2 separate regions of the Homo sapiens genome follow, and region 2 is linked to region 1. Evidence: promoter capture Hi-C in human tissues and cell types (Jung and others, 2019). All regions are on one chromosome and are shown on one strand. Each heading gives the region's core, a stretch centred on a gene start or on the middle of the fragment in contact. The rest is flanking DNA. Distances are from core to core; before and after follow the strand shown.

What was found. Contacts are between HindIII fragments. The study calls those that stand out against the background at their distance.
Region 2: a contact is called between a fragment that was not itself captured here and the fragment with the promoter of MYOC in region 1, in 1 of the 25 tissues and cell types used here (hippocampus).

What each region holds. Positions count from the first base shown.
Region 1 is chr1:171,647,515-171,655,354 of GRCh38, reverse strand. MYOC (myocilin) reads left to right here and starts at 2,667. Exons shown (of 3, transcript NM_000261.2): 1 at 2,667-3,347. The coding sequence starts at 2,744. The HindIII fragment of the contact is 9,045 bases long and covers 1-5,357 here.
Region 2 is chr1:172,453,454-172,461,293 of GRCh38, reverse strand. C1orf105 (chromosome 1 open reading frame 105) reads right to left here. Exons shown (of 7, transcript NM_139240.4): 4 at 4,805-4,879. Among named protein-coding and RNA genes, the nearest start is that of PIGC, 13 kb to the right of the region's middle. The HindIII fragment of the contact is 4,092 bases long and covers 397-4,488 here.

The DNA of each region.
Region 1 (7,840 bases), core at 1,418-3,917:
GTTCAGTGTTGTTCACGGGGCTGGGAGTTTTCCGTTGCTTCCTGTGAGCCTTTTTATCTTTTCTCTGCTTGGAGGAGAAGAAGTCTATTTCATGAAGGGATGCAGTTTCATAAAGTCAGCTGTTAAAATTCCAGGGTGTGCATGGGTTTTCCTTCACGAAGGCCTTTATTTAATGGGAATATAGGAAGCGAGCTCATTTCCTAGGCCGTTAATTCACGGAAGAAGTGACTGGAGTCTTTTCTTTCATGTCTTCTGGGCAACTACTCAGCCCTGTGGTGGACTTGGCTTATGCAAGACGGTCGAAAACCTTGGAATCAGGAGACTCGGTTTTCTTTCTGGTTCTGCCATTGGTTGGCTGTGCGACCGTGGGCAAGTGTCTCTCCTTCCCTGGGCCATAGTCTTCTCTGCTATAAAGACCCTTGCAGCTCTCGTGTTCTGTGAACACTTCCCTGTGATTCTCTGTGAGGGGGGATGTTGAGAGGGGAAGGAGGCAGAGCTGGAGCAGCTGAGCCACAGGGGAGGTGGAGGGGGACAGGAAGGCAGGCAGAAGCTGGGTGCTCCATCAGTCCTCACTGATCACGTCAGACTCCAGGACCGAGAGCCACAATGCTTCAGGAAAGCTCAATGAACCCAACAGCCACATTTTCCTTCCCTAAGCATAGACAATGGCATTTGCCAATAACCAAAAAGAATGCAGAGACTAACTGGTGGTAGCTTTTGCCTGGCATTCAAAAACTGGGCCAGAGCAAGTGGAAAATGCCAGAGATTGTTAAACTTTTCACCCTGACCAGCACCCCACGCAGCTCAGCAGTGACTGCTGACAGCACGGAGTGACCTGCAGCGCAGGGGAGGAGAAGAAAAAGAGAGGGATAGTGTATGAGCAAGAAAGACAGATTCATTCAAGGGCAGTGGGAATTGACCACAGGGATTATAGTCCACGTGATCCTGGGTTCTAGGAGGCAGGGCTATATTGTGGGGGGAAAAAATCAGTTCAAGGGAAGTCGGGAGACCTGATTTCTAATACTATATTTTTCCTTTACAAGCTGAGTAATTCTGAGCAAGTCACAAGGTAGTAACTGAGGCTGTAAGATTACTTAGTTTCTCCTTATTAGGAACTCTTTTTCTCTGTGGAGTTAGCAGCACAAGGGCAATCCCGTTTCTTTTAACAGGAAGAAAACATTCCTAAGAGTAAAGCCAAACAGATTCAAGCCTAGGTCTTGCTGACTATATGATTGGTTTTTTGAAAAATCATTTCAGCGATGTTTACTATCTGATTCAGAAAATGAGACTAGTACCCTTTGGTCAGCTGTAAACAAACACCCATTTGTAAATGTCTCAAGTTCAGGCTTAACTGCAGAACCAATCAAATAAGAATAGAATCTTTAGAGCAAACTGTGTTTCTCCACTCTGGAGGTGAGTCTGCCAGGGCAGTTTGGAAATATTTACTTCACAAGTATTGACACTGTTGTTGGTATTAACAACATAAAGTTGCTCAAAGGCAATCATTATTTCAAGTGGCTTAAAGTTACTTCTGACAGTTTTGGTATATTTATTGGCTATTGCCATTTGCTTTTTGTTTTTTCTCTTTGGGTTTATTAATGTAAAGCAGGGATTATTAACCTACAGTCCAGAAAGCCTGTGAATTTGAATGAGGAAAAAATTACATTTTTGTTTTTACCACCTTCTAACTAAATTTAACATTTTATTCCATTGCGAATAGAGCCATAAACTCAAAGTGGTAATAACAGTACCTGTGATTTTGTCATTACCAATAGAAATCACAGACATTTTATACTATATTACAGTTGTTGCAGATACGTTGTAAGTGAAATATTTATACTCAAAACTACTTTGAAATTAGACCTCCTGCTGGATCTTGTTTTTAACATATTAATAAAACATGTTTAAAATTTTGATATTTTGATAATCATATTTCATTATCATTTGTTTCCTTTGTAATCTATATTTTATATATTTGAAAACATCTTTCTGAGAAGAGTTCCCCAGATTTCACCAATGAGGTTCTTGGCATGCACACACACAGAGTAAGAACTGATTTAGAGGCTAACATTGACATTGGTGCCTGAGATGCAAGACTGAAATTAGAAAGTTCTCCCAAAGATACACAGTTGTTTTAAAGCTAGGGGTGAGGGGGGAAATCTGCCGCTTCTATAGGAATGCTCTCCCTGGAGCCTGGTAGGGTGCTGTCCTTGTGTTCTGGCTGGCTGTTATTTTTCTCTGTCCCTGCTACGTCTTAAAGGACTTGTTTGGATCTCCAGTTCCTAGCATAGTGCCTGGCACAGTGCAGGTTCTCAATGAGTTTGCAGAGTGAATGGAAATATAAACTAGAAATATATCCTTGTTGAAATCAGCACACCAGTAGTCCTGGTGTAAGTGTGTGTACGTGTGTGTGTGTGTGTGTGTGTGTGTAAAACCAGGTGGAGATATAGGAACTATTATTGGGGTATGGGTGCATAAATTGGGATGTTCTTTTTAAAAAGAAACTCCAAACAGACTTCTGGAAGGTTATTTTCTAAGAATCTTGCTGGCAGCGTGAAGGCAACCCCCCTGTGCACAGCCCCACCCAGCCTCACGTGGCCACCTCTGTCTTCCCCCATGAAGGGCTGGCTCCCCAGTATATATAAACCTCTCTGGAGCTCGGGCATGAGCCAGCAAGGCCACCCATCCAGGCACCTCTCAGCACAGCAGAGCTTTCCAGAGGAAGCCTCACCAAGCCTCTGCAATGAGGTTCTTCTGTGCACGTTGCTGCAGCTTTGGGCCTGAGATGCCAGCTGTCCAGCTGCTGCTTCTGGCCTGCCTGGTGTGGGATGTGGGGGCCAGGACAGCTCAGCTCAGGAAGGCCAATGACCAGAGTGGCCGATGCCAGTATACCTTCAGTGTGGCCAGTCCCAATGAATCCAGCTGCCCAGAGCAGAGCCAGGCCATGTCAGTCATCCATAACTTACAGAGAGACAGCAGCACCCAACGCTTAGACCTGGAGGCCACCAAAGCTCGACTCAGCTCCCTGGAGAGCCTCCTCCACCAATTGACCTTGGACCAGGCTGCCAGGCCCCAGGAGACCCAGGAGGGGCTGCAGAGGGAGCTGGGCACCCTGAGGCGGGAGCGGGACCAGCTGGAAACCCAAACCAGAGAGTTGGAGACTGCCTACAGCAACCTCCTCCGAGACAAGTCAGTTCTGGAGGAAGAGAAGAAGCGACTAAGGCAAGAAAATGAGAATCTGGCCAGGAGGTTGGAAAGCAGCAGCCAGGAGGTAGCAAGGCTGAGAAGGGGCCAGTGTCCCCAGACCCGAGACACTGCTCGGGCTGTGCCACCAGGCTCCAGAGAAGGTAAGAATGCAGAGTGGGGGGACTCTGAGTTCAGCAGGTGATATGGCTCGTAGTGACCTGCTACAGGCGCTCCAGGCCTCCCTGCCTGCCCTTTCTCCTAGAGACTGCACAGCTAGCACAAGACAGATGAATTAAGGAAAGCACAGCGATCACCTTCAAGTATTACTAGTAATTTAGCTCCTGAGAGCTTCATTTAGATTAGTGGTTCAGAGTTCTTGTGCCCCTCCATGTCAGTTTTCACAGTCCATAGCAAAAGGAGAAATAAAAGGACCGGGTGAGATGTGTCTGCATATGAGCAGTAGAAAGTTGTCAATTGTCCCTTTTGAAAAACTATCCTTTTTTGAACCTTTGCTCAGATTGTTATTTGTACCTTTTGATGTTAAAATGACCTTTATTTATGAAATTACAATAGATTTGGGAAATGATAATAAGTGGTAAGTTTTTGTTTATTTTTAAATGTTCTTCCCTGGCAAAATAAAGAGATGGCACCTCTCTGTCAGTTTTCTTAATATGTTGTTCTGAAAGTTTTCTTACTCAGTCCAATCTGAGAACCTCTGCTTTTAAGTCATCAGACAAATTCTTGAGATGGCTTTTTCTGAGAGGCTCTTCTGTTCATCCTGGTCCCTTCTTGCCTAAAGGTGAGTCTGTGTGTGTGTGGGGGGGGTGCGGGGGTGAGGTGTTGGGGGAGGTCTTCTTATTAGCTGGGAAGATGGTATTTGTGTCACTTTTTGTGAAAGTGGGCTCCCAAATATTCCCTGTTGAGGAAGTGTTCTAATCATGAGGAAATAAGCAAGCAAATCCAGTTGTTGGACAATTAGTTTGGACTGGTCAAAGATGTCAGTGCCAAGGAAGAAAGAAAAAAGGGGTGGGGAAGGGCTTGTTCTATATTAAAGAGACTAAAGAAATGTGTTAACCAAATGTAGTGCATGAGTCTTGATTGGTGTCTTCATCCAAGGGGGAAAAAGGCTATGAGGAACAGGTTTGGGATAACTGAGGCAATTTGACTGCTCATTATTATGTTACTGTATTAATGTTCAGTTTCTTGGTGAGATAATGATACTGTGGTTGCGAAGGATAAAATCTTTGTTCTATGGAGATACATGCTTAAGTACCCAGGGTGAGGCGTCAGGATGTCTGCAATTTGCTCTCAAATGGTTGAAGAAAGACTGCAAATATATAGATAATGAGAGAAAGAAAGGTAAAACAACTGTGGCAAAATATTAATAACTGGTGAATTACAAACTGGTGAATCTAAGTATATGGGGAGCTTATTGTACTATTCTTTCAGTTTTTCTATAGGCTTGAAAAGCTTTAAAATTATGAGAAAATATTTCCTAAAAAGAGCCTTCTACGTGAAAGGCAAGCTCTTCATAGCTATGGGGTTAGAAAACCTAAGAGCCAGAGCCTGGGGATGACCTTGGGCAAGTTATTGAACCCTCTGCATCTTCATTTCTTGTCCATAACATAACAAAGAAAATTCCTGCTGTGAATAATTTTTGTGGGGTTCACATGAAATACCTATAAGATGTAAAGGATTTTTAAAAAATGTTTAGATTGTTAGAATTAGAAGAGATCCAATTCTGAATTTTACAACCAAGGAAAGTGAAGTCCTAAGATGCTAAGGGGCCAAGGTTGCCCAGCTGGTCAGTGGTAGAGCTTGAGACTTGAATCTGTGGAGACAATTGAAAGAATCATCATTACCAGAAGTGTGATGAGGCATTACTTATTTCAGACTGTTGAATGAAGTTACATTCTCAATAAAAACTCCTGCATGTGTGTATGTGGGTGTGGGTGGTGTGTGTGTGTGTGTACAAAAATAGTGGCAATGTTTTGCCTTTTTTTTTCTTTTGTGGTCATTTAACAAGTCTTTGGGGATTTATTAGATGTGTTTCCTAATTTTATATTTTTTCTTGATCTTTCCAGCTACTCCACTTTTGAAATAAGGGCAACATCCCATTATATTGAACACCAAACATGGAAGTTCTTTTCTAGTAGTAGATGTTTTTCATGAGCAGGAAATTACATTAGTACAAGAATGTGGAACTGGAAAGGGACCTAATGAGCATCCGGTACCGCTGGCTGATTTTTGCAGATATGGAAACTGAGGCCCAGAGAGGTTATTCAGCTTGTCCATGGCCATCTACCAGTTAGTGGCAAAGCTCGAATTCTGGCCTCTTCCTCTGAAGTTCAGTGACTTTCTTTCTTTTTTTTTGAGACAGAGTTTCACTCTTGTTGCCCAGGCTAGAGTGTAATGGCACGATCTTGGCTCACTGAAACCTCTGCCTCCCGGGTTCAAGCAATTCTCCTACCTCAGCCTCCTGAGTAGCTGGGATTATAGGCATGTGCCACCATGCCCGGCTAATTTTGTATTTTTAGTAGAGACAGGGTTTCACCATGTTGGTCAGGCTAGTCTCGAACTCCTGACCTCAGGTGATCTGCCGACCTCGGCCTTCCAAAGCACTGGGATTACAGGTGTGAGCCCTCCCTGTACATGGCCATGAGGTTCATTGACTTTCAAGACCTTCAGCTGACCTCTGGTTTATAGACCCTAAAGGTAAAAGACAGAAAGGTACAGGAATGCTTGGAACAAAAGATCTGTTTCAAGGCCAGATCTAGGGAAAAGGGGGCATTCTGGAGGCTGGAATATAAGTCTAGGTATGCTTTTTTGCAGGAGTGGCAAGAACTAGGTGTGAAGGTTTGGGTAGAGAAGCTTAGTGAGGCTGAGTGGACAAAGGTAAGGCCTGAGAAGGCAGCCTTTCTGTATTCCACCTGCAACTCAAATTGTTACCACCACTTTCTTGATCATGTATTAATAGTTGTTATGTAGAAAAAAATTCCTTATAATCATAGAAATCACTTGTTTATACATACACATAATATGACATATTTTACTACATAACTATTACTACAAAGTTATATATAACTTTTTCTTCTCTGGGCTTATATAAATTTTCATATATATACATATATAAATTTTATGTATATATAATAGTTTTTGAAAAGTAGAAAAAAAATACAATTAGCCAAGTGTGGTGGCTCACACCTGTAACCTTAGCACTTTGGGAGGCCGAGGTGGACAGATCACTTGAGGTCAGGAGTTTAAGACCAGCCTGGCCACTGTGGTGAAAACTTGTCTCTACTAAAAATACAAAAATTAGCCGGGTGTGGTGGCGGGCACCTGTAATCCAGTTACTCCAGAGGCTGAGGCAGGAGAATCGCTTGAACCTGGGAGGCAGACGTTGCAGTGAGCCAAGATCACGCTACTGCACTCCAGCCTGGGTGACAGAGCGAGACTCCATCTCAAAAAAATATATATATTACATATAATACATATAAATATATATAATTATATATATAAATTTATTATATATATAATAAAATACATATATAATTTACTAGAAGATAAATTAGAGTTGGTTATTACTGTCACAAGAGAAGGACTGCTTTGTTTGTTATTTAGCCCCTGCTTTGGACTGGTCTCCTGTTGAACAGAGCCTGGAAGAGGGCTTGTGTGCAGTTGGTTTATATGGACCATGATCCTAGAGAAGAGAAGTTGAGACAGGGGAAAGTGAGACAGGGAAGGCAGGAAAGCCACAAAATGGGGGCCTTCTCCAGCTAGTCACCACAGTGGGCAATGGAGGCTCAATCCCATCAAGCCCTTCAGAGGGGCTGTGTAGACTGCAACAGAAGAGGGGAGGTTTACGCATGGATCTGATACCCTCTTGGCCAAGGGCTATCCCATGGAGTATATTGCGCTTCCCTGATACTCAGATGTGGGGACGAGGTTTGTTCTTGCAGACTGATTTTTTTTTTTTTTTTAAGATGGAGTCTTTCTCTGTCCCCCAGGCTGGAGTGCGGTGGCACGATCTTGGCTCACTGCAACCTCCGCCTCCTGGGTTCAAGCAATTCTCCTGCCTCAGCCTCCCGAGTAGCTGGGATTACAGGTGCACACTACCACGCCCAGCTAACTTTTGTATTTTTTTTTTTTTCCAGTACAGACAGGGTTTCACCATGTTGGCCAGGCTGGTCTTGAACTCCTGACCTCAAGTATCCACCCATCTTGACCTCCCAAAGTGCTGGGATTACAGGCATGAGCCACGGCGCCTGGCCTGTTCTTGTAGACTTTCTATGCAGAAAGTCAGAGAAGCTGGGCCACGGTGGCTGAGGCGAGGTCCCCGCAGGTGATAACTGCAAGAGGCAGGTTGCCTCAGCAATGACTGCAAAAAAGTGGGCAGGATGTGAGGGGAGGGTGAGGGGAGAAACCTGAGGTGTTCAACACAAGTGCTGCAGATTCCCTTTCCTCACCTAGAATAGGATGGGGATGAGAATCCCTCATGGGAGTCATCATGCAAATTAGCAGTCACACAGGGAAGCACCCAGTGCAGCGCTGAGCAGTGGCCACCCAGTGAATAAAATATAACTAGAAAGGCTTATTTTACTTGAGTTCCACTATTGTTTTTGTTTTTTGTTTTGTTTTGTTTTTTGAAGATGGA
Region 2 (7,840 bases), core at 1,193-3,692, 810 kb before region 1:
TGAAAATAGCAAAAAAACTGAATGCAAAGGCTATACAAATGCCAAGAATGTACTATGTTTACTCAGCTTGTTCTCCTAACTCATTAGCTGAAGAAAGGATGGGAGAGGGAGAGGAAGGAGCTGATCTGGTAACAAAGAGCCTCTGGGCATAGTGGGGGCAGCCAAGGCTTTAGTAAGAACCTGAGGAGAGATTTCTAAACATAAAAGTGGCTGAGAATGTGCCAGAGACAGACTGCTTTATTCAAAAATTTATCTAAAGTTGACTCTGCTCCAAGGGAAGATGCAGGAAACTGTAACTCCTCCTGAATAGCATGATTGCTGTTCTAAATCCCCTAAATCCAGCTAGCGCTATTGTATGAATGAACTGTGCTACAGGGGCTGCATCAGAACAAAGCTGCCTGCCAAAGACAGGATTTTTGTTTTTGAGAAAAAGTGTACTGTGGGAGACTCCTATTCATTCTTGAAAACCCTGAATAGTCTTTTTCTTCAAGGAAGACTTCCTTGATATTTACTTTCACTGCCCCTTCACTCCCCATCAGATCTATTTCTGTTTATATTGATTACATTCTGTTGTCATTATTTATTTATTTGTTGACTCCTTAAAGACAGGTCTTATGTATTTCTTTTTTTTTCTTTGTAGTTTACCTAAGTACCTGGCCCATGGCAGACAATCAATCAATATTTGTTGAAATAAACTTAATTTATTTTGAAACTATTTTTTAATATATGTTAGAGAATATCTGTTTACAGTTGTCTAGCTTGATGGTCCTACTTTTAAGGGGCTTGAAGGTGTTAATTAGAGAGTAATGCAGATAACAGAAGGACTACAGAATAGGTGCATTAAGGGGAAGATGAGCTGTTTGGAGCAGAGACATGATGAAACACAGCCTAGATAAAACCAAGGCAAATATCACTGGTGATTCACAACCATAACTGTCAGCAGGTATTTCTTCTGCACTGAATGATTGAGCTTCTAGCCCAAGGTTACATAGGAATATGAGTAGTTACATAACCAGGTCCTATTTACATTTTTTTGAGATTCATCTATTTTGTGCTTTTATTTAGTGCTAATTTCTTTTTATCGGTGTTTATGATATCATGTATCATAAGTCACCATCTTAATGTGCAATTTAGTAGTTTTTAGTATATTCAGAAAGTTGTAAAACAACCACCATTGTTTATTCCTAGAACAGTTCATGACCCCAAAAAGAAACCACATACCTATTAGCAATTGCTTCTCACTCACTCCTCTCCCCAATCTTTGACAACCACTGTCTATTTTCTGTCTCTGAATTTTCCTATTTTGGACATTTCATATAAATGGAACCAGTATAATATGTGATCTTTTGCATCTGGTTTCTTTTACTTAGCAAAATGTTTTCAAGGTTCATCCATGTTATAGCATGTTTTAGTATTTCATTCTTTTTTATGATTAATATTCTATTATATAGATAGACAACGTTTTGTTTATCCATTAATCAAGCCCTAGGCATTTGGGTTATTTCCACTTTTCAGCTATTAAGATATGGCTGCTATGTGCATTCTTGTAGAATTTTGTGTGTGAATATGTTTTTAGTTCTCTTGGGTACATATCTAGGAATGGAATTGCTGGGTCATATGGTAACTCTGTGTCTAAGGTTTTGAGGAATTCCCAAACTGTTTTCCAAAGCAACTGTACTGTTTTACATTCCCATCAGCAATTTTTGAGGCTTCTAATTTCTCCACATCCTGGCCAACACTTGTTATTATCCACCGTTTTATTATTATTATTATTACAACCATCCTAGTGGATGGAAAGTGTGTCTCATTGTGGTTTTGATTTGCATTTGCTTTACAACAAATAATGTTGAGTATCTTTTCATGTGTTTATTGGTCATTTGTAGATCTTCTTTAGAGAATGTCTATTGAAACTTTTTGCTCACTTTTCAACTAGAGTGTTTGCCTTTTTATTGTTGAGTTTTAAGTGTTCCTTATATATTCCAGATACTAGTCCCTTATCTGACATAATCCTTCATCTGTTGATTTGCAAATATTTGGGTTGTCTTTTCGTGTTCTTGATGGTGTTCTTTGTGGAACAAAAGTTTAAAATTTTTATGAAGACTGATTTATCTATATCCTTTTGTTGTTTGTGCTTTGGGTGTCCTATCTTAGAAACCATTGCCTTATCCAAGGTCATGAAGCTTTATACCTATGTTTTCTTCTAAGAGTTTTATGGTTTTAGGTCTTACATTTAGCTCTTTGACCTATTTTGAGTTATTTTTGTACATGGTGTGAGGAAGAGGTACAAATTCATTCTTTTGCATGTATCTATGCAGCTGCCCCCGTACCACTTATTGAAAATACTATTCTTTCCTCATTGAACTGTCTTGGTGCCTTTGTCAAAAATCAATTGTTTATAAACATAAGAATTTACTTCTGAACTTTCAATTTTATTCCATTTATCTATTTGTCTATCTTTATGGCAGTACCACACAGTCCTGACCATAGCTTTGTAGTTAGTTTTAAAATCAAGAAGTATGAGACCTCCAACTTCGTTCTTCTTTTTAAAGATTGTTTGGCTATCCTGGATCTCTTGCATTTTAATATAAATTTTAAGATATGATTGCAAATTTCTATAAAAATGGCATCTGGGATTTTGAGGATTACATTAAATATGTAGATCAGTTTGGCGGAGTATATTCATCTTTACAATATTAAGTGTTCCAATCTATAAACATGGGGTTCTTTCCATTTATTTAGGCCTTTTAAATTTTCTTTCCACAATGTTTTATACTTTTCATTGTATAGCTCTTGTGCTTCTCGTGTTAAATTTATTCCTAAATAATTTTTGATGCTATTACAAATGGCATTGTTTTCTTCATTTTTGGGTTGTTCACTGCTATTAATAGAAATTAAGGTTTATATACTGATCTTGTATCCTCAACACTGCTGTACTCATTTATTAGCTCTAATAGTTTTCTGTGCATTCCTTAGGACTTTCGCTATATAAGAGCATATCATCTGCAAATAGACTAGTTGTACTTCTTTCTTTCTAATGTGGATGGATTTTATTTCTTTTTCTTATCTTTCTGGCTAGAATGTATAGTAAAATGTTGAGTAGAAGTGTCAGGAGCAGACATTGTTGCCCTGTTTCTAATCTTAGGGGAAAGTATCCAGTCTTTTACCATTAAGTAGGGTGTTAGCTGTTAGTTTTTCAAGCTGCTCTTTATTAGGTTGAGGAAGTTCCCTTCTATTCCTAGGAGTCTTTTTATATATTCCCCAGTATTTCTATTCAACTCACTGCTGAGAAAGAAGGGGTATCACAGTGACTACAGCAGACCTGCAGTCCCTCCCCTTGGGAGGACTTTGAGGTATTACTGCATAGAGTGAGGCAAGGATATTTCATGTTTATTTTCTAACTTTCTGTAGTTTATCACCAGGTTCTGACAGCAGTACAGAAGGGTCCCTGGGCACTTTTGTGTTTGAAGCCCTTCCTTTTAGAAGCTTCAATAAATGGTAAAATTGCAGCATGTGGCTCCACTTCTATCATTCCTGGACAAGGGCAAAGGTCAGAGAAGAGGTCTTGAGAAAGAGGATGGCTGCTGATGTCCCAAGTGTGCCAGCTGGCCAAGGCCAGCTTAGGCCTGGGGTTGGTGCATTCTAAATGTGGACACAAGGGATTCCAGGAATAAGACCAGGAGAAATCCCAATCCTAGTTTCCCAGACTCCAGCCAATGCTAATATTTAACACAGTGACCCTAATTATGTAGAAAATGAACATAGATGGCAACATCAAGGTGCAGCTTTGCCGGTAGCTTCAGTTAAATTTGTAAATCCCACATAAAAATTTCACAAAAGTGCCACTCTCTTTCACATCCGACTGGACCTAAGACTTGCCATGAACTCAGTGAAGGAGCTTTTCTTATATCTTCTATTTTTCTTCCATTCTTTTAAAGCACGTTTAGCCTACACATTTAGCCCCACCTTCCTCCCCAAGTCAAAGGAGAATTATAGGATATCAGAGTTGAAGAAACCCTTCTCCAGCTCGTACCTCAAACCTAACCATGTTGCTAAATTAACCCTTAACCAAAGCCTCTTCCTTACCCTGACGCTAACAACCATCCCAGCGCTAACTCTAATTCTTAAATTACCGAAGGCCTAACTCCAGCCTAGTCTAGCATCCTTCCTGAATCAGGCCTCTGATTCAGCAACTGTGATAGATGGCATGGCAGAAGTTTGTCTTTGTTCCCTCCACATCTCCCTTGCTTTCCTTCTTTCTTTTCCTAATATTCCTCCCCTACCACCATTCTCCACTATATGTTACAAATACCCAAAGCAGGTGACACCGCCCCTGACTACCTAGAAAGTACTGTAGACTCTCTCCCCAGTCTTTCTCTTGAGGTGCTACCTAAATTAACAGTAAACCCAAAGATGAAGCTGTTTGTCTCCTGATTGTAACGGTGGAGAAATGAGTGTGAGCCTATGTGTTGTGTGGGGGCTACATTAAGGAGGGAGAAGGAGCTCCATAATCCCCTAAGCCTCTGAGAGGCTGTAGTTACTTAGGAGCCCAAGGCGAAGTGTCTCATTGCATCTCTACTCTGGCCCATCTATCCTGGTTACCCTTTAGCTTGTTGAAACGGAGAAGGTTTATCATGTTCTGTCAGTCGATGCTGCTCCCAGGACCAACAGTTCCTCCTTGGCAGCCTTTATCTAGGCCCTCCTTGCAACGGGCCCCGTCACTATCTCTCCCCACAGGGCTTGGCTGGGAAGGGCAGTGCTGCACCCTGAGATGCCTGTGCCCATTTCTGTCTTCCCCCTTGCCTACCATTTTCATTTCTTGACATGTGGAGCACAGCTGTTGGTTTCTGAGCAGCATGGAGTCACACTGGTTCCTCCTGGCCTGAGGGGAAAGAGAGACAGAGAGAGGTGAGGAAATGGTGGGGCATGTAGGGCAGCAAAGATGTAGGAAAGCAGTGGAGGGGTGAGAGAGGTAACAGTTTTTCCTTCCGTAAAACAGAGATGGGCACTCTGGTCTCAGCCCCATCCAGGGTGGGTGTTGAATCTGGAGTGTGCTGCAGCTGGTAGGTACCGAGAGTTTAGGCAGGAGGGAGTGAGACATAGGCTAGGTGGTGGTCTTGAGGCTGCTGCATGCAGTGGTATACATGTAAAGACAGCTGGCAGAGATGGCTGGGGCCTGAAATTCAGTGGGGTCTCTACTTTCCAGCCTGAGCACCTGTGTCTGAGGGGTTGCATTCTCCTATAGGTGGGCCATTTTTTCCATTTCATAAAAAGGCTCCACCATATAGACTGAGGATCTCTGATGGCCTAAGAAAGAATGAAGAGAAGACTTCTCTTCTGCAAATCTTTTTTTCACGGGCCTTTCCTAAGCATCGCCTTCCTTTCTCATGCCTTAACTCTGGGCCAGAAACAGCTCTCATGCATCCATGGTCCAGCACCATTTGGCCCTTCTGTACCTCCTAAGCAGAATGATTGAAGCCACAAGCAGAACTCAAGCTTGTGTGTGAGTCCTGAGTCCCCTCAATCCTCTGGGAAAGAGAGGCTGTCTCAGTAGGTGAAGAAGCAATCAGTGGAGGAAGGGGAGGGGCACCGTGTCTGCTCACTGTAACCACTGGTTTTTATTCTGACTTCATTTCTGCAAAAGCATTAAAGAGAGGACTTTGGAGCATTTACACCTGGGTTCAGGAGGTTCTCATTTGCATCTCTGATAAAAGTTTGCTTAGGAAGCATATAGGAACTTGAGGCTAAACTTATGTTTGGGATTCTCTCTTAACCTTCCTCATTCACATTGACATCAGTCATGAGATATGGTCACAGAAAGTGCAGAATATGGGGAAGAGGAAAGCCACAGTGAGAAGACTATTGACTGAAGTCTTCTCTTTCCTTTGATCCGCTTGCTGGCCCATCACTACATGGTGTGCCTTGACCCATTCCTGTTGCCCTGGGAAGTGTGGGGAACAGAAAGAGGAGGAACAGAAAGTGAGGAGTTCCTGAGGTGTGCTCCTAGGATGACCTTTGCCAGATTGTTCTGCAAGTAGCTTCATCCTGTGAGAGACATATGGCACTTAGGTGATGCATCATGGGGGGTTTGAGGGCTAAAAACTGTTAACAAAGTTGGATTCTTTTGAGAAACATTTAAAATACACTTCATTTTTATAGGGCATTCTAAAAAGAATCAACTCAGTATTACAATGTTGTGGGTTGGTATGTCAAAGTATGTGTGTGAATAACTAGATTCATTCATTCAACAGTAAACATCTATTGTGAGGCTACCAAGTAAAGGGTGCTGTGACGGGGGTCATACCGACGAATAAAGCAAAGTTTCTGGAAGGAAGTTTCTAAGGAAGACAAAAGAAGAATACAAATTCATTCATTTACCCATTCATTAGGTACTGGAGACATTTAAATAAATAAGACATAGTTTGTGACCTCAAGCTGCTCACCATCCAGTAGCCTATACATCAAGAAGTATGATGGTGTTGAAGGTGCTACAACAGAAATATATCGAGGCTCCAGTGAAGCTGAAAGGGGTCATTGAGCTTAACTGGGGGTGGGGCAGAGAGGGAAGGGTCTGAGAAGGGTAAAAAAAAACAGGCAATGCTTGGGTAGGTGTTTGTGGAGTGAACAAGGATGGTGAGGGTGTTGCAAGCCCAGGAAACACTATACAACAACCTGGAAGAATAATCTAGCAAATCAGCTTCGGGTAAGTGAATGTAGGTTGGGATGGACAGGTTGTCTGGTGGGAGGTTGAATGGAGTGAGAAGAGAGACTAGAGAGGAAATGTCTGTGGATATTGACTCCTCTGCTTTGGGCTGATTCAACTTTCTACCATGTCTTCCTGATACCCCTGGGGGTGATATCCCCTGAAGCTCCAGCTCCTCCCTCCATCCCTCACATCTTTGAGGTATGAGAGTGAGGTACATTTCTGAAACTGCAATTAAGGTAGGACACACTAGATATCATACAAGAGGCACTAATACCTCTGTGCCTTCAGAAAACAGAGAGACCACTTCTGATTGGAGAAATCAGGAAAGGCTTCCTAGAAGTGGAATTTGTACTCAGTCTGAAGGGATGAGGAAGACCTGGACAAGGGGAGGCAGATATGGAAGAATTCTTGGGCAGGTTTGTTTTTAGTAGAGATATAAGTTCTTCACTGAAATTATTTCCTTCACCTTTTTCCAGACTTCTGGTTTCTGCTAAGACTACTATTAGACCCTATAGGAAGTGGAATCTCAGAGCTCATTGCAAATCAAGCAACAGATATTATTTGCAAGATCCCCAAAGTGCATTGCAAGATCTTGCTAGGTTAATGACAACTGTAAATGTGAGTACAGAGTCCCATAACATAATGACTGTCATCTCTTAGAATCTGAGGGATGAAATGCTTATATATTGTCCCACCTGGCCTTGATAGCTACTCATTTAAGACATAGTGTAGGTGTTACATCCTCAGAAAACCTTTCTCCTGGGCTGCTACCATTTCTCACCCTCCTAACCTCAGTTGGGTGCCTGCCTCTTTGATTGCATCATAAACTTGGTCTAGCTTTCTTTGTATTTGCACTATTCTTGATTTTAAATGTGTTTATTTCCTCCACCGGGCTGAGAGTTATTATATTTAAGAGCAAGAATCATGTTTTACACATCTTTGTATTCCTAGAACCTATGATAGAACCTGGCACACAGCAAGTATTCAACAAACATTGGGCAAATGAATGAGTCATTGTAAGCAATTTAAATTATGAGGTCTAAATATAGACACAATCAACCTAAATATATAAAACGAAAAATACATATATAAATGAAGATCACTATTGTAACACGGTCTTCAGGGAAACGTTACAGA